Linked DNA regions of Homo sapiens: region 2 is linked to region 1. The links are contacts of gene promoters, found by promoter capture Hi-C in blood cells and fetal thymus (Javierre and others, 2016). All regions are on one chromosome and are shown on one strand. Each heading gives the region's core, a stretch centred on a gene start or on the middle of the fragment in contact. The rest is flanking DNA. Distances are from core to core; before and after follow the strand shown.

The links. The method cuts DNA at HindIII sites, captures the fragments that hold promoters and counts their contacts. A CHiCAGO score of 5 or more calls a contact.
Region 2: the fragment with the promoter of ALCAM here is called in contact with the fragment with the promoter of CMSS1 in region 1 in 1 of 17 cell types (naive CD4 T cells); the score reaches 5.2 in naive CD4 T cells.

Annotation. Positions count from the first base shown.
Region 1 is chr3:99,814,754-99,821,688 of GRCh38, forward strand. It overlaps CMSS1 (cms1 ribosomal small subunit homolog), which reads left to right and starts at 3,109. Exons shown (of 10, transcript NM_032359.4): 1 at 3,109-3,290. The coding sequence starts at 3,227. HP09053 (a long non-coding RNA gene) reads right to left here. Exons shown (of 3, transcript NR_110821.1): 2 at 4,167-4,221; 3 at 1,879-3,719. LOC105374010 (a long non-coding RNA gene) reads left to right here and starts at 3,109. Exons shown (of 5, transcript NR_189163.1): 1 at 3,109-3,290. RefSeq lists a silencer at 2,790-3,544 and enhancers at 2,960-3,834, 3,066-3,375. The HindIII fragment of the contact is 550 bases long and covers 2,971-3,520 here.
Region 2 is chr3:105,362,367-105,369,301 of GRCh38, forward strand. It overlaps ALCAM (activated leukocyte cell adhesion molecule), which reads left to right and starts at 4,543. Exons shown (of 16, transcript NM_001627.4): 1 at 4,543-5,115. The coding sequence starts at 5,043. RefSeq lists silencers at 4,488-4,587, 4,918-5,037 and enhancers at 6,068-6,227, 6,564-6,935. The HindIII fragment of the contact is 2,798 bases long and covers 2,854-5,651 here.

The DNA.
Region 1 (6,935 bases), core at 1,859-4,358:
GAGTTATGATTAAATGAATTAAGATATAAGAGGCATAGAGAGGTACATACAACATGCTATTGTTGATATTGTTACTACCATTATTGTCTACATGATGCAAAAGTTTGAATGCATTATGATGGTTCCTGAAGTACACTTATAGGCTGGGCTTATTGACTAAGAACCTCTGCACTGATTAAGACCTTTTCATTGTGTGGTGAGCATTCACGAAACAGCCTTCAAACTTTATCGCTCTCTTACTAATTCAGTTTTTGCCAACCTTTCACATCATGGCATCCATAGAAAATGGTAATATCTGTACAACACTAGAGTGAAAAGATGATGATACCCTCAACCTGAGGCAACTGCCCCAAGGTCACTGCTTCCTCCAAAGACTGCAGGGGTCAGTCTTCAGCCCACCCATGCCAGGTGGGAAGCTCTGCTCAAATCCATTATTCATCCTGCACAGTAATACCAATTTAGCTTTCCTAAAACAATACTTCCATCATGTCCTTTGCCTCTAATAACAACGACAAAAATCCAGAATTCTTGGTCTGATACTCAAGATTAAGGCATGGAGTTGGAAGAGACCACAGGAATCATGAAATTGCTCCCCTTTATTTTACAGACTCACAAAGAAATGCCCAGCAAAGTTTAATAACTTATTCAAAGCAACATTGCAATCTTTCTGCCAAGGAACTATCATTTACCCTATCCATTTTTGCCGACAGACATCCATTGTCAAGTGCTACCTCCCAGTTCGCCCCATTGGGAAATGAATGCTTCCTCCTTTAAACTCTAATAATACTCATTCAGATACTGAACAGTAAGAGGGAGCAGAAAAAGACCTAATAGTTATTTCAGCCTGAGCTTCCCTGTGTTAGATGATATGATCAGATACTGGAGAGTACGGTTTTACAATACACTGATTTATAAACCAGGATGCCTATTCACTAATAACCAATTCACTAATAACAGAACAAACAGAACAGAAATGGATGCTACAACTTAGGTTGGCTATTCAATATAATCTGGGGTCAGTAAACTTTTTTCTGTAAAGTTAGAGCAAATATATGAGGGAATAGTAATAAATAGTAAATATATGAGGGCTACAGTCTCTGCTGCATATTTTTCTTTACGTTTTTGTTGTTGTCGTTGTTGTTTTGTTCTGTTTCTTACAATGCTTTAAAAATGTAAAAAATGGCTGGACACAGTGGCTTAGGCCTCTAATACCAACACTTTGGCAGGCTGGAGTGGGAGGACTGCTTGAAGCCAGGTGTTAAAGACCAGCCTGGGCAGCAAAATGAGACGCCATATCTACAAAAAACAAAAACAACAACAAAATAACCAAGAATGGTGGCATGTGCCTGTAGTCCCAGCTACTCGGGAGGCTGAGGCGAGGTGGAATATAATGTAAGACCATTCATAGTTCATGGTACAAAACAGGTATCAATTCCCATTAATGCATAGACACTCCATAATTTAGTATTGCCAGACTTCTTTTTTTTTTTTTTTTTTTTTTTTTTGAGACCGAGTTTCGCTTTTGTCAACCAGGCTGGAGTGTAATGGCACCATCTCGGCTCACCGCAACCTCCACTTCCCGGGTTTAAGCAATTCGCCTACCTCAGACTCTCAAGTAGCTGGAATTACAGGCGCCTGCCACCATGCCCGGCTAATTTTTGTATTTTTAGTAGAGATGGGTTTCGCCATTTTGGCCAGGCTGGTCTGGAATTCTTGACCTCAGGTGATTCACCCACCTCGGCCTCCCAAAGCGTTGGGATTACAGGCTTGAGCCACCGCGCCCGGCCCATACTTCTTAATTTTGTGATTTATTGCCTGAAAAACGGTCTCGCTGTGGTGTTTTTTTTGTATTTCCCAGATTAATAATCAGACTGAATTCTTTTCATGTTTATTAGCCATAGCAACTCCTCTTCCACACTGGCATTTCTTATCTTTTTCAAAAATCTATTAATCACGAAAATCTCGTCATCTACATTTCTTCACAAAAGCCATATTACTTTTGATCTTTATAGATTATTTTACATTTGCCATATTTATACATAATATCTTCCCTTTTGGGGCATTTAGAGTGTGCGGACAAAGTCTAGGCAGTAATGCATTTATAAAACATCTATGAGTTGGGTGCACACGGGGTAATTTTCCACATATGGCTAATCCTAGCCTCATCAGATTAAGTTTCCCTGTCTTGTCATTTCCGAGGATGTATCCTATTAGAAGTCTAGCCCTTTATTCCTACAAATTGAATTTCCACTACTGTAGGCTAACATCTGAATGGACTCATCTTACTATTCCATGCATAGTACCAGGCACGTTGCGTGCTTTTACTACATTTTGTATAATTTTTACGTCTGTGTTTGATGTCCTGAAAAATACCGTCCACAATTACTTCACAGCTAGCCCCAGCACTTGGCGCCCAGCGGGTTTTCCTAGTCCCTCCCTGCCAAATCACGTTGGGACTGAGACAAGAGGCACTGCGGGTCTCTTACCTATAGTTACGAAGCAATGGACTCCCTTATTACTTCGTTTCCCAAATAGGGGGTGGGACACACAACCGAGGGAGTATGAGGAAAACAACTTGCGGGTCTTCGAGCCACTTGCGTCTTTCTGTGGGCGAGCCTTTCCAGGCCAATTACATTTTCTTTACTCATATTGCATAAATAGCAGAACTACATTTACCACAAAGGCCCGACATTCATGGTCATGGATCCTTGCGCATGTTTTCTAAGAGCAAACTGTACAAACACATAAACTCTGAAACACTGACGCACAAGCGAAAACACACGCACATGTTTGGGTCTTCTCCCGCTGCGCAAGTTCTTTGAAACTGAGCGGAGAAAAATCGTCTTCACATGGTGTCTCACACTTTCGACACAATCTTATCGGGAAACGTAACACGTAAACAAAATTTTTTAAAATGCATTATCAAAAACGATGACAATCCCTTTCGTCTTATGTTCCTTTTTGTCTTTAAGCTTTGGGGGGATTTATGTTGCGTTTCCAAACTGCTTCTGCCTGTCGGCGCCTGTGTGGAAACTGCGACGAGTCTGGGAGCGGCTGCCGGAGAGGCGGGGCAGAGGTGTGACGTCATCGCCGCGGGGCGGAGGCGACAGTGTCTAGCGGGAGCTCCGCGTGTAGCTACGCCGGCCGCCTGGCTTTGAGACAACGTGATTCTCCGCAGCTGGTCGCCTACCCGTGATGTTCTGCCCACGTCGAGACCTGAGCTGAAATGGCAGACGATCTCGGAGACGAGTGGTGGGAGAACCAGCCGACTGGAGCAGGCAGCAGCCCAGGTACCCACTCTGTGCCCGCGCTCCTACGGGGCCTCTCCCGGAGCCCTTCCGTGCGCCTCAGCCCTGGTCGCTTCTGGCGATCGCGGTGTTTGCCCAGCAGGGGTGTGCACCGCCTTGGGAGCGCGCAAGCATCTCGGGGAAAATGGTGCAAGAGATTCTTTAACACGTGAAACAGACAGCTGTGACATTAACTCAGATCTGTCTGCCAGCCAGGAAGGATCCTTTCCACAAGCTTTCTCTTTTCCTTATTTCTTGAGAATGGATAAGACAGTTTTTGTGAAGAGAGGCAACTTTGTATGATGGTTAAGGGTGACCCATGAACTGCTTTCAATTCAGACTGAGGTCAGAAGCAGGGGTTGCTGCTTCAGACTCCCTCCATTCAAATCACGACTCCAGTATTCTGATACTGTTTAGCCTCCTTTTCCTCATCTGTAAAATAATGATAACAATAATGTCCATTTCGTAAAGTTGTGAAGATTAAGTGAAGTTAGTACAGTAATGCACTTTAGCATAGTGCTTGACATATAATGTGTGGTAAATATAAGTTACTGTATTTCTTGTGGTCATCATCATTATCATGGAATTTGGAATAGTAGAACTGGAAGGAGGCTTAAATAGAGATCATCCTTTGAACTCACTTATTTTACAGATGAGAAACATAACCTAAAGATGTCAAGTAACTTGACAAGTTCACAAAGCTAGCTCCTTTCAGAAACAATACTAGAATTCAGTTAACACAATTTGAATAGTTTCTACTATGCTCTGCTGTGTTTACCAACTCCTGATGCAGTGGGCATTTCATCCCCAAGTAGAGTAGCGTTAAGTGACCCCCCATGTCAGGCTAGCCTTGAACTTTTTAAGTTCCATCACACCTACCATGCAATTATTGGTTGGTTGGTTTTTATCACTCCTCAAGGTCTGCCTCTTTTCTCTACAAGAGAAGACAGGGCCAAAGTCAGATTCATACTTCTGTCATCCACAGGGCCCTGCACATGTTAGACACTTGATACCTATTTGCTGCAAACAATCTTGAAATACTAGTTGTGAAATATCCATTAAAAATAACCAACTTCATTTGTTGCATTGTTTCCGGAAGGTCAAGCCTTCAGGTACAAACTAAGCAGATGTCATTTTTAGAAAGGTAGCCAATACAACATTTCCTTGATTAAACTTCCTGACTCTTTTGCAGCCCTGTGGTGTTCCACATTTACTTTAATAACTACCCCTCCCAACTCAGGTGTTAAAAAGCTCTATTTTATGATATGATTGAAGATGAACAGAGGCCATTTAAGAAATAGTTGAATTCTGTTTGAGTGGTGAAGGGGATCCCAATTCTTGGTTCTAGTCCTCACTAGCTGTGTGACTTTCAAGTTATTCATCCGTTGGAAGAAAGGCAGTCAACATGTATTGAGTATCTATTATGTGACAAATGTCTTCATAAATATGAATTGATTTAACTTTCATAACATCCCGAAAAGGTAAGTATTCTCTTCATTTGTATAGGTGAAGAAACAGAAAAAAGTTAAGTCGTGTTCTTAGGAACACACATTGAAGAAGAGGTCTGGGAAGAGTTTAGTCAAGTGTGATTGATTTTGAAAGTCACGCTTTTCCCGCTACTACTTTGTGACTTCTCTGGGCCTTTGTATCATAATCTGTAAAGAGCCCTTAAAGATCATCTTTTTTAGGGTTTTACCAACCAACAGTTTTTTTTTTCTTTTTTTTTTTTTTTGACACGGAGTCTCCCTCTGTCGCCCAGGCTGGAGTGCAGTGGCACGATCTCGGCTCACTGCAACCTCTGCCTCCTGGGTTCAAGCGATTCTCCTGCCTCAGCCTCCCAAGTAACTGGGATTACAGGTGCCCGCCACCACACCCAGCTAATTTTTGTATTTTTAGTAGAGACGGGGTTTCACCATGTTGGCCAGGCTGGTCTTGATCTCTTGACCTCGTGATCTGCCCACCTCGGCCTCCCAAAGTGCTGGGATTACAGGCGTGAGCCACCGTGCCTGGCCCCCAACAGTTTTAAACACTGAATCTAGTAAAACTTTAAATCGCTACAGCCTCCTTCATCTAAGTTGCCAGAATTCTCATGAAGACAGTGTGTTGGAGTGCCTAAGATTGCTCTACTTCTTACATTCCTTCTAGCCATAAGACTAACCCTTTTTTTTTTTTTGAGACGAAGTCTCACTCTTGTCCCCCAGTCTGGAGTACAGTGGTGCGATCTCAGTTCACTGCAACCTCCACCTCCTGGGTTCAAGCGATTCTCCTGCCTCAGCCTCCCGAGTAGTTGGGATTACAGGAGCCTGCCACCACCCCCAGCTAATTTTTGTATTTTTAGTAGAGATGGGGTTTCACCATGTTGGCCAGGCTGGTCTTGAGCTCCTGACCTGAAGTGATCTGCTCGCCTTGGCCTCCCAAAGTGCTGGGATTACAGGTGTGAATCACCGCACCCGGCCAAGACTAAGCTTTGAAAATTGCTGGCATTAAATTTATCAGAGGCCTTTGCTTTGTTCGCTGCTCTTAAGCAAAGTAAGTATATGCCTTTATTTGAAATATCCTTGATTATTCACTGGCAATTTGCCTAATTGTAATCTGTACAGCGTTTCTAATTCAAAAGAAATCACAGCTGAACCACAGATTTCCTGATTCTTCTTTTGTTGATGGGATCTAGCCTTGATCCTAGAGCACAAGGCTTACTTACCTGGCTGCCTTCTTGAAGTCTTTACTTAAGTTATTTGATAGGGATGTCAAATGTATTCAATTGTTGTTTCAGCCTAAAGTATGTGAATTATGTTTTGTTTTGAAAGTTGAAGGAGAAATAATATGTTAAATCAGAGAAAGGAAAGATAGTTGTATTGGTGCTTTTATTCCTGTTGTGGATTATGCTACCTGCCTATAAAAATAAACATTTTTGCTATAATCTGTTCCCACTTGACATCCATGGTAGCAAGGCAGTGGAAGATTTCAGTCACTTACAAATACTTGTTGGTTGTACATGGTTTATAACATCTATCTAATGTGCCTATCTGTTTGTTGTCTGTCTAAGGAACTGTACTATTTTTTGGCTGTTATCATGTCTTCTTAGATGTGGTATGTAACAAAGTTTTCATGGCTCTTTAAAACCTGTCATTTTTGTGCTAGAGTTCTACATTGCACTGGAGCTCAACATGGGACCTGGCACTTAATTGGTGTTTGGTGGATGTTGGCAGAATAAATATATGTGTGTATGCGTGTTACCTGCTACAGAGTATGTAGGCAGACATATAATTTCTCATCCAATCTAGACACTTTTGTGAGTGGAAGGCTATGCAATTAGAATTTTGCAGGGACTCTCCTGGTCCTTAAGGGATGTCTAGTCACTCCATTGGTGGCAATTGGAGTCATGGCCCAACATAAGACAGCTGGGAGTTACAGTGCTGAGTGTGCAGCCCAGGATGCCTTAGGCATAAGACCCCAGGAATCATCTAATGGCATCTAATATTTGATTTATTTCCTTATTCCCTGTAAACCTTCAGCAACTGTTTGAAGTGACTTATAGTAAGTAATACATTCAGTAGAATAATGATGTGAAAATATTAATGCTGAAATGAGCAAACACAATGCCTGAGATTTTAATGTAGTTGACCGGTCTGGGTACTTTCTCAGTGT
Region 2 (6,935 bases), core at 3,293-5,792, 5.5 Mb after region 1:
TAATACACTGAGAGTTTTTGAAATTCATTTAATATAGTGTAAGTTTCATAGTCAAATAGCGTAGCTAAATTCTTTCTTCATTCCTCATGTCTGAGACAGGAAGGAAAATGACTAAGTGGATTTCTAGTTCAACTGAAATAGCTATGTATTTCTTTTTGTACCCAGACTGAACATTCTGTGAAATAAGAACATAATGTTTATCATAGACTTTGAAAGTTTTTACTCTCCTGAGCTTCAGTGATATGTCTTTATTAGCTGGCATTATTGAAAAGGTGAGTTGCAGAATTGTATTAATTCATTGACAGATGATACTGTTAACAACTGAAATTAAACAATAAAATTCAATGGACTTGGGAAGAGATATACCCAGAGGTCCTCCATGTGTATTTAATACAATAACTTTGGAAATCATTTACTTAAAAACAACTTGGAGTCTAGAATAAAACAGAATTTTATATTATACAGATGTAATCTCTGTGCCTCTTTAAGATTGTGTTTCTTCCTAGACTTAATATAAATCCCACTTAGGCCCTTATTTCAATCTTTGTCATCAGTATATTAGCCTAAGCCCTAGCTTGATCACCTAGAACCTTTACTAATCAGGTTTCTGTGCTCAGCATGGGCCACTTTGTTTTATTCTAATTGATGGCATATAATTTTAGTACAGCCTTTCTTCTGTAGATTGTTTCCTCACTTTATACTTCATAGTTATCACCTTGTTGACTAGGACTTGACTCATTCTTTTTGCCTTTCCTAAACCTTAGTCTGCCTAGACCAATCATTGAAGACCCAATGGAAACCCCTTTCATCTTCTCATATCATGAACCCTTGTAAGATGGTTTGAAGGCTTATATTCCATTAGGTATTTTTCTCACCACTTATCATCCATTCACAAAAATTTATCAAGTGTCCAATCTATTTTTAAGTATGGCTGAACATGCATTCACCGTAGGTGACGCTTGAAGGAGAGAAGAGTGAATCAGATTTGTTGCATGCTCTGGAACTGCATACAATTTTGTTCAAGGAGTAGGAAGGCAAACAAAACACAATGGTATACAGTGGTAGGAACAAATGTTCTCAGCTTCCAAAACTATCTTTGTTGAAATTTCATCTCCAGTGGAAATTTTGGCGGTGCTAATCAGGGGAGAAAAACTACTTCCATTCTTCAAAGGCACACACAATTGACTCGGCTATGTTGTCACATACTGATGGGATTAATATTTTAGTACAGGGAAGGGGTCCTGGCCTGAGCCTTGGGAATCCTGAGTCCTTATCTCAACAGACCGTAAGTAGGAAACTTGCCTCCGGTACCATGTCACTGCTTTTGAGCATATCATCCTGATTGATGATGAATTCCTTTATACTTAAAATACAAAGCTCTTCTCATGTCCCAGGTAACGTGAAATTTTTTCCCCCTGGATAAATGTTATTCATTTTTCCCTTTCAGCAAGATGTACCCTTATGATTCTCTGATGCATGACTAAACTATACAATAAATATTATTGGAATACTATGTATTCTCAATTGTAACAAAAGTGACTGTGATCTACATGTAGCTGGAAACACTCTTCCTCTCAAGAATTAGGTAAGATGGATCCAATCCCACATTGACTAGATTTTGAAAGATTAATTCGATTACATTACTTTGTGGAGCTTACATTTTTATGTTTATTTCTAACTCTGAGCTCTTGCTTATGCTACATTATTTCAGTTTAGAAGTGGTCTTGTCATCTCATATGCACTGTATCTGGCCTACGCAGATAGGGTGCGCTGCTTTATTAATAAATTTCCTTAATGAAAATGTGTGTGAAAGGATGAGAGAACTTATGTTTAAATCAATCGCCCCACCAAAAAAACCATACATTTATTGCTACGCATTCTTGATAAGCAAAGTGGATAGTGATGAGCAAAGTAGATAGGAATTCAGTTCAAGAATCAGAATGCCTGGGTAGAACCCTGGCTTTACCATTGCTATGAATCATTGTGTGACCTTGGAAAAGTTGCTTCGAGTCTCTGGGTTTCAGTTTCTTCATGAGTAAAATGAGGATGAAAATAGCAACTCCTTCAATAAATTTTTATGAGGGGAATACATCTATTAATTCATATAAATTGCTTAGAATATTCTAACATGTAAGTGTTGCTAATTAATAGATCTAAAGACCTTTGAACATTTCTAAACTCATGCTTTGTATTGTTGCCTTCGTCCCCACTCCCAGGCCAAATTTCTATTTTCATGGTTATTATTTTGTTTAATATAGAGCCGTTTCACCATTTTTTTTTAATGACCAATAGCCTTTGGAGTTACTAGTCCAAGTGGCTTATCAAGGCATTTTCCTAAACTAGGACACATTCCTTTCTAAAAACAATTCTGGAAGCAGTGGACTACACATTCAAATATATATTATACATATGCCCATATATATATGCATGTGTTTGTGTATAAGTATAATATGTACATATTTGTATAGTCAGTTGCTCCCAGAATTCCACGTGTGTGTTTGTGTGTTTGATCTCATTTGATCTTCACAGCAATCCCATGAGGCTAGCACTATTATCACTTTTTACAAGAAAGGAGACTGAAGCTTAAAGAGGTTAAGTGAGTTGACCAAGATCATACAGTTAGTGTCAGAGCCCAAATCAGTCTTCCTTTTGCAAATCTACCTTTAAGCAATTATGCTGTATTAACTCCCATCGTAAAATAGAGGAGATCAGATAGAGCGTTCGCGGACCTAGGTTAAATATATTGTCAGGTCGATTTATTCTAATACACCCCACTTACAACCACAGTGAAAAAGAAAACAATTCCCTAAAGCAATTCTACAGGAGTCCATGGAAATGCTAGCATTTCAGCCAAGCTTAGCTCAAGGAATATAGAGTTAAAAGGCATTTGCCTCCTAGCGATAGCCTTCCTGTTGATTCATAAGATGCAAATGAAATGTTAATGTTTAAACCAAGTGGGAGAAACTACTTATTTTGAGAGGAAAAAAATATGGTATAAAAGCTCTACTCTAGAATATTGTTAATGTAAGGAGAACTGGAAGAACAGGACAAGCAGGCTTTTGAGAAAAATCACAGCTGAAGATAGGGCTTAATAGTTTAGAGCACTAAAAGATAAACAATTTTAAAAATCAGTGTGTGAGTGTGTGTGTGTGTGTGTGTGTCTGTGTGTTGCGAGTCTCCAATCTCGCTGGTAACTCGCAGTTTTCTGATGAAAGTGCAGTATGTAACGATTACTAGTTGGCATCCTCTGCTGGAGACCAGTCTCACAAAAGGGTGACCCTGTGATGCACGAAAGGCTATTTAATGCCCCAGCGAAGTGCTTCAGGGACCAAGATTTTATTATTCTTTGGTGATGAGAGTTGTGATCCTGCATCCCTGATTTAGAGCCACTTAGGGCTCCGACAGCTCCACCCCGGTGTTCTAGAGGAAAATCTTCCTTCATGCTCTCTGCCTGATTTGAAAGCAACACAGCTTCCCGATGTTCCTCCTGGGAGGTGGTTCAATCTTTAGAAATTGCCTAAGAAGCCTGTCCATCTGCTGGAGTGCCTGGCTTTCGGGAACGGACCAAGACGGACTTGGCTTTTAATCTGAAATAATTTGAGGATTTTCTGTCTATAACTTAAAATCACCGCTTAACTCAAAGTAAAAAAGTGACACGCTCTCTAGAGGGCTTTTGTAGACATTGGGAAAATCCGTATGACGAAGTACGGTTTAGAAATTCCGGATTTAATTTCCCCCGGGAAAAGCAAATATCTTCTGTTGGTACCGGGCAGTCGACTCACGTAGTCTTCCTTTAAAACCAAGTCTATGCCAGCCGGGTGTGAGGGGAGTGGTGGGGGTGAGCAGGGGGAGGAGAGAGATTCGAAAAGTACAGGAGGAATCAGTCCAGTACAGGGGTTGCCCCTGCCAACAAGTAGCTATTCCTGTTAACTCCCAAGAAGCAAGTTTCCACCTTTGCCACTTCCTCCTGCCCTTTCCTTTCCTTTTCCCTTCACTCCCGCTCTTGGACCCAAGGTTCGCTCCCCACCGCCACCGCCCTGCCCCACTATTCTCTTTACAGGACAGAAGGCTGCAGCAGCACGGCGGAGAAAAATCTCTGAGGAATGAGTCAGTGGGATGGGCGTATGGGTGGAGGGAGAGGGCAGTCGATTTTTAAACCTCAGCGAGGGTGGGTGGGCAGTTGGAAGCCAGAGGCCTTATCACTGGGGCGCTGCAACATCACAGAAAGTGTTAGTCCCAGGGCTCTCCCTGGCGCGCGCGGCTCCTGTGCTTGCTTCTTATTGGCGGACCTGGCCCTGGGGGCGGAGCCGCGGTGAAGCACCGCTCATCCGGGCTCCAGGACCGGGGCACGCGGTTCTCCCTGATCCCGGAGCTGGGCTCAGGGCTCGGACTCAGTCCTGCAGCGCCTCTAGGCTGCGGATCCGCGCTTCAACCACCTGCTTTGCGCTGCGTCCGGGGAAGTGGGGAGGAGACGGGAGGGAGGGAGGAGGCGGGGAGAGGAGGAAAGAGGCAGCTTACACACGCCTTCCAGTCCCTCTACTCAGAGCAGCCCGGAGACCGCTGCCGCCGCTGCCGCTGCTACCACCGCTGCCACCTGAGGAGACCCGCCGCCCCCCCGTCGCCGCCTCCTGCGAGTCCTTCTTAGCACCTGGCGTTTCATGCACATTGCCACTGCCATTATTATTATCATTCCAATACAAGGAAAATAAAAGAAGATACCAGCGAAAAGAACCGCTTACACCTTTCCGAATTACTCAAGTGTCTCCTGGAAACAGAGGGTCGTTGTCCCCGGAGGAGCAGCCGAAGGGCCCGTGGGCTGGTGTTGACCGGGAGGGAGGAGGAGTTGGGGGCATTGCGTGGTGGAAAGTTGCGTGCGGCAGAGAACCGAAGGTGCAGCGCCACAGCCCAGGGGACGGTGTGTCTGGGAGAAGACGCTGCCCCTGCGTCGGGACCCGCCAGCGCGCGGGCACCGCGGGGCCCGGGACGACGCCCCCTCCTGCGGCGTGGACTCCGTCAGTGGCCCACCAAGAAGGAGGAGGAATATGGAATCCAAGGGGGCCAGTTCCTGCCGTCTGCTCTTCTGCCTCTTGATCTCCGCCACCGTCTTCAGGCCAGGTGAGCAAGGGCCTGGGAGCAGCCCCAGACAGACGTGGGCCTGGAGCAGTTTCCTAGGTCCCCGTCCCAGCCTCGCACCCCCGAGGCAGTGCGCCCAGGCGCGTGGTGGAGGTAAGGGGACCGCTGTCCTGGCACAGAGCTGTCCCCGGGCTCGGTCACCTGTGCCGCACGTTTGGGCTTGGCTGGTTAGCTCAAGTTTGGGCATCAAGCTGGGGAAACTGGGTGAATCTCCAGGAACTTGGTGCTCCGGGGTGGGCAGGATTCGCCTGACGCTCTCCCCTTGTCCCTGCGGCTCCCAGCTAGGCGGCGGACTCTTGCCCTCTGACAGTTCCTCCTGTCTCTGGGTATCCAAGTCCACGTCACTGCGCCCCGAGCAGTTTTTCTTTCGCTTAGTTCTCGGATGAAATAACTGCCGGCACTTTTTCGTGATAAATCCCCTAGTAACTTCCCCTTGGTGAGCCGAGGAAGGGATGGGAGGGGTAGAGAAGGAGAGGACTTTAATCACCTCCCCCCGCCCCCCTTGCGAAACCTGCTAAAGCTTAAAATCGTGGTTTCAACGTTACCCCCTGCGGTCCCCGTCCATTGTCTGGGCGGGTGGTGAGTGAAAGGGTGACCGCAGGCAGATAACACAGCCAGAACAGGAATTAGTAGGTAGGCCTGGGAGACACCTCAGTGAGAGGTTTGTGAATTTCCAGGACCTGCTCATAGAGCCTCAGTTCTCAGTTCTGTACTGAGTCTTGGAAGAGAGAGAGAGAGAGAGAGAGAGAGAGAGAGAGAGAGAGAAAAGGCAAAATTCCCAACAACTAAAATATCTCTCGGGAAATCCCTTTCCACACCCTCGGGGACGTCCCCTGGCCCTGGTATCCTCAGGCCCGCCTGGCGGCTGACACAAGTTGTTCTAACAGGGTATTCCGTGCGCTCACAGTTGCCTGACAGAGCAGCAGGTTCCTTTGCTCCCCTAAACTGAAAATTTAGGGGATTTTTTTTTCTTTGAAGTTTTTTTTTTCTATCCCTGCGTAGACAGTTGCCAGTTAAACTCCTACTTCCTGGTATTTTGGCCTGTTTGTTCTTAGCTTTTTCTTTAGCTTTTATCAAAGAAAAATCTCACTTCCTTTTATCCGTGCACATCCCTTCAGCTGTCGGCAAGCTCAGGTCACAGAAGAGGTTTGAAAGCCTCTGAATCTCTCCCAGGAACTGGCGGGGAGAGGGGTTTGGGGGCCAGAGCCTGAGGAAGAGATTACAAGTGTTTGCGAGCTGCTGCTGCTGCTGCCGTTGCTGTGTGTGTGGGCGGGAGGAGTGCCCTCTCCAGATCTCTTTATTAAAGTTACATTTCTGGGTGAGGTAATGAGCTCACCTGATGTTTCTGAGGCTGAGGGAAAAAAAAGGCGTCTGCGTTCTCTGACAAATCTCGGGCTCTGGGGCGGGGACTGTGAAACCATAGTTCAACCGGATTTAAAGCAGGTGTCCTAGTGTAACAACGCTGGGGAGGTAGGTGGAAAGGCGAGACCCCCTTGGGCCTGGCACAGTGTGGATTTCACTTTTTCGAGATTCCACTGTCCGATGGAGGAAAGGACACTTTGGAGCCAGGGAATGAGCCAAGAAGGGAGGACAAGGGTGATGTCGGTTTGTAACATGCAAACGTCCACACGCCCACAGTTGGTTTTCCGATTAACCCCCTCGAGACTTGGAGAATGTAATCTCACCCTCGTCCACACCCCTGACACAGGCACATAACCAGTTTCCTTTTCGGTGCCGTCACAGGCGGGCCACGTCGCAGGATAGGTTTTTCTACACATTTAACTGCTAAAAGGGGGAAAGTT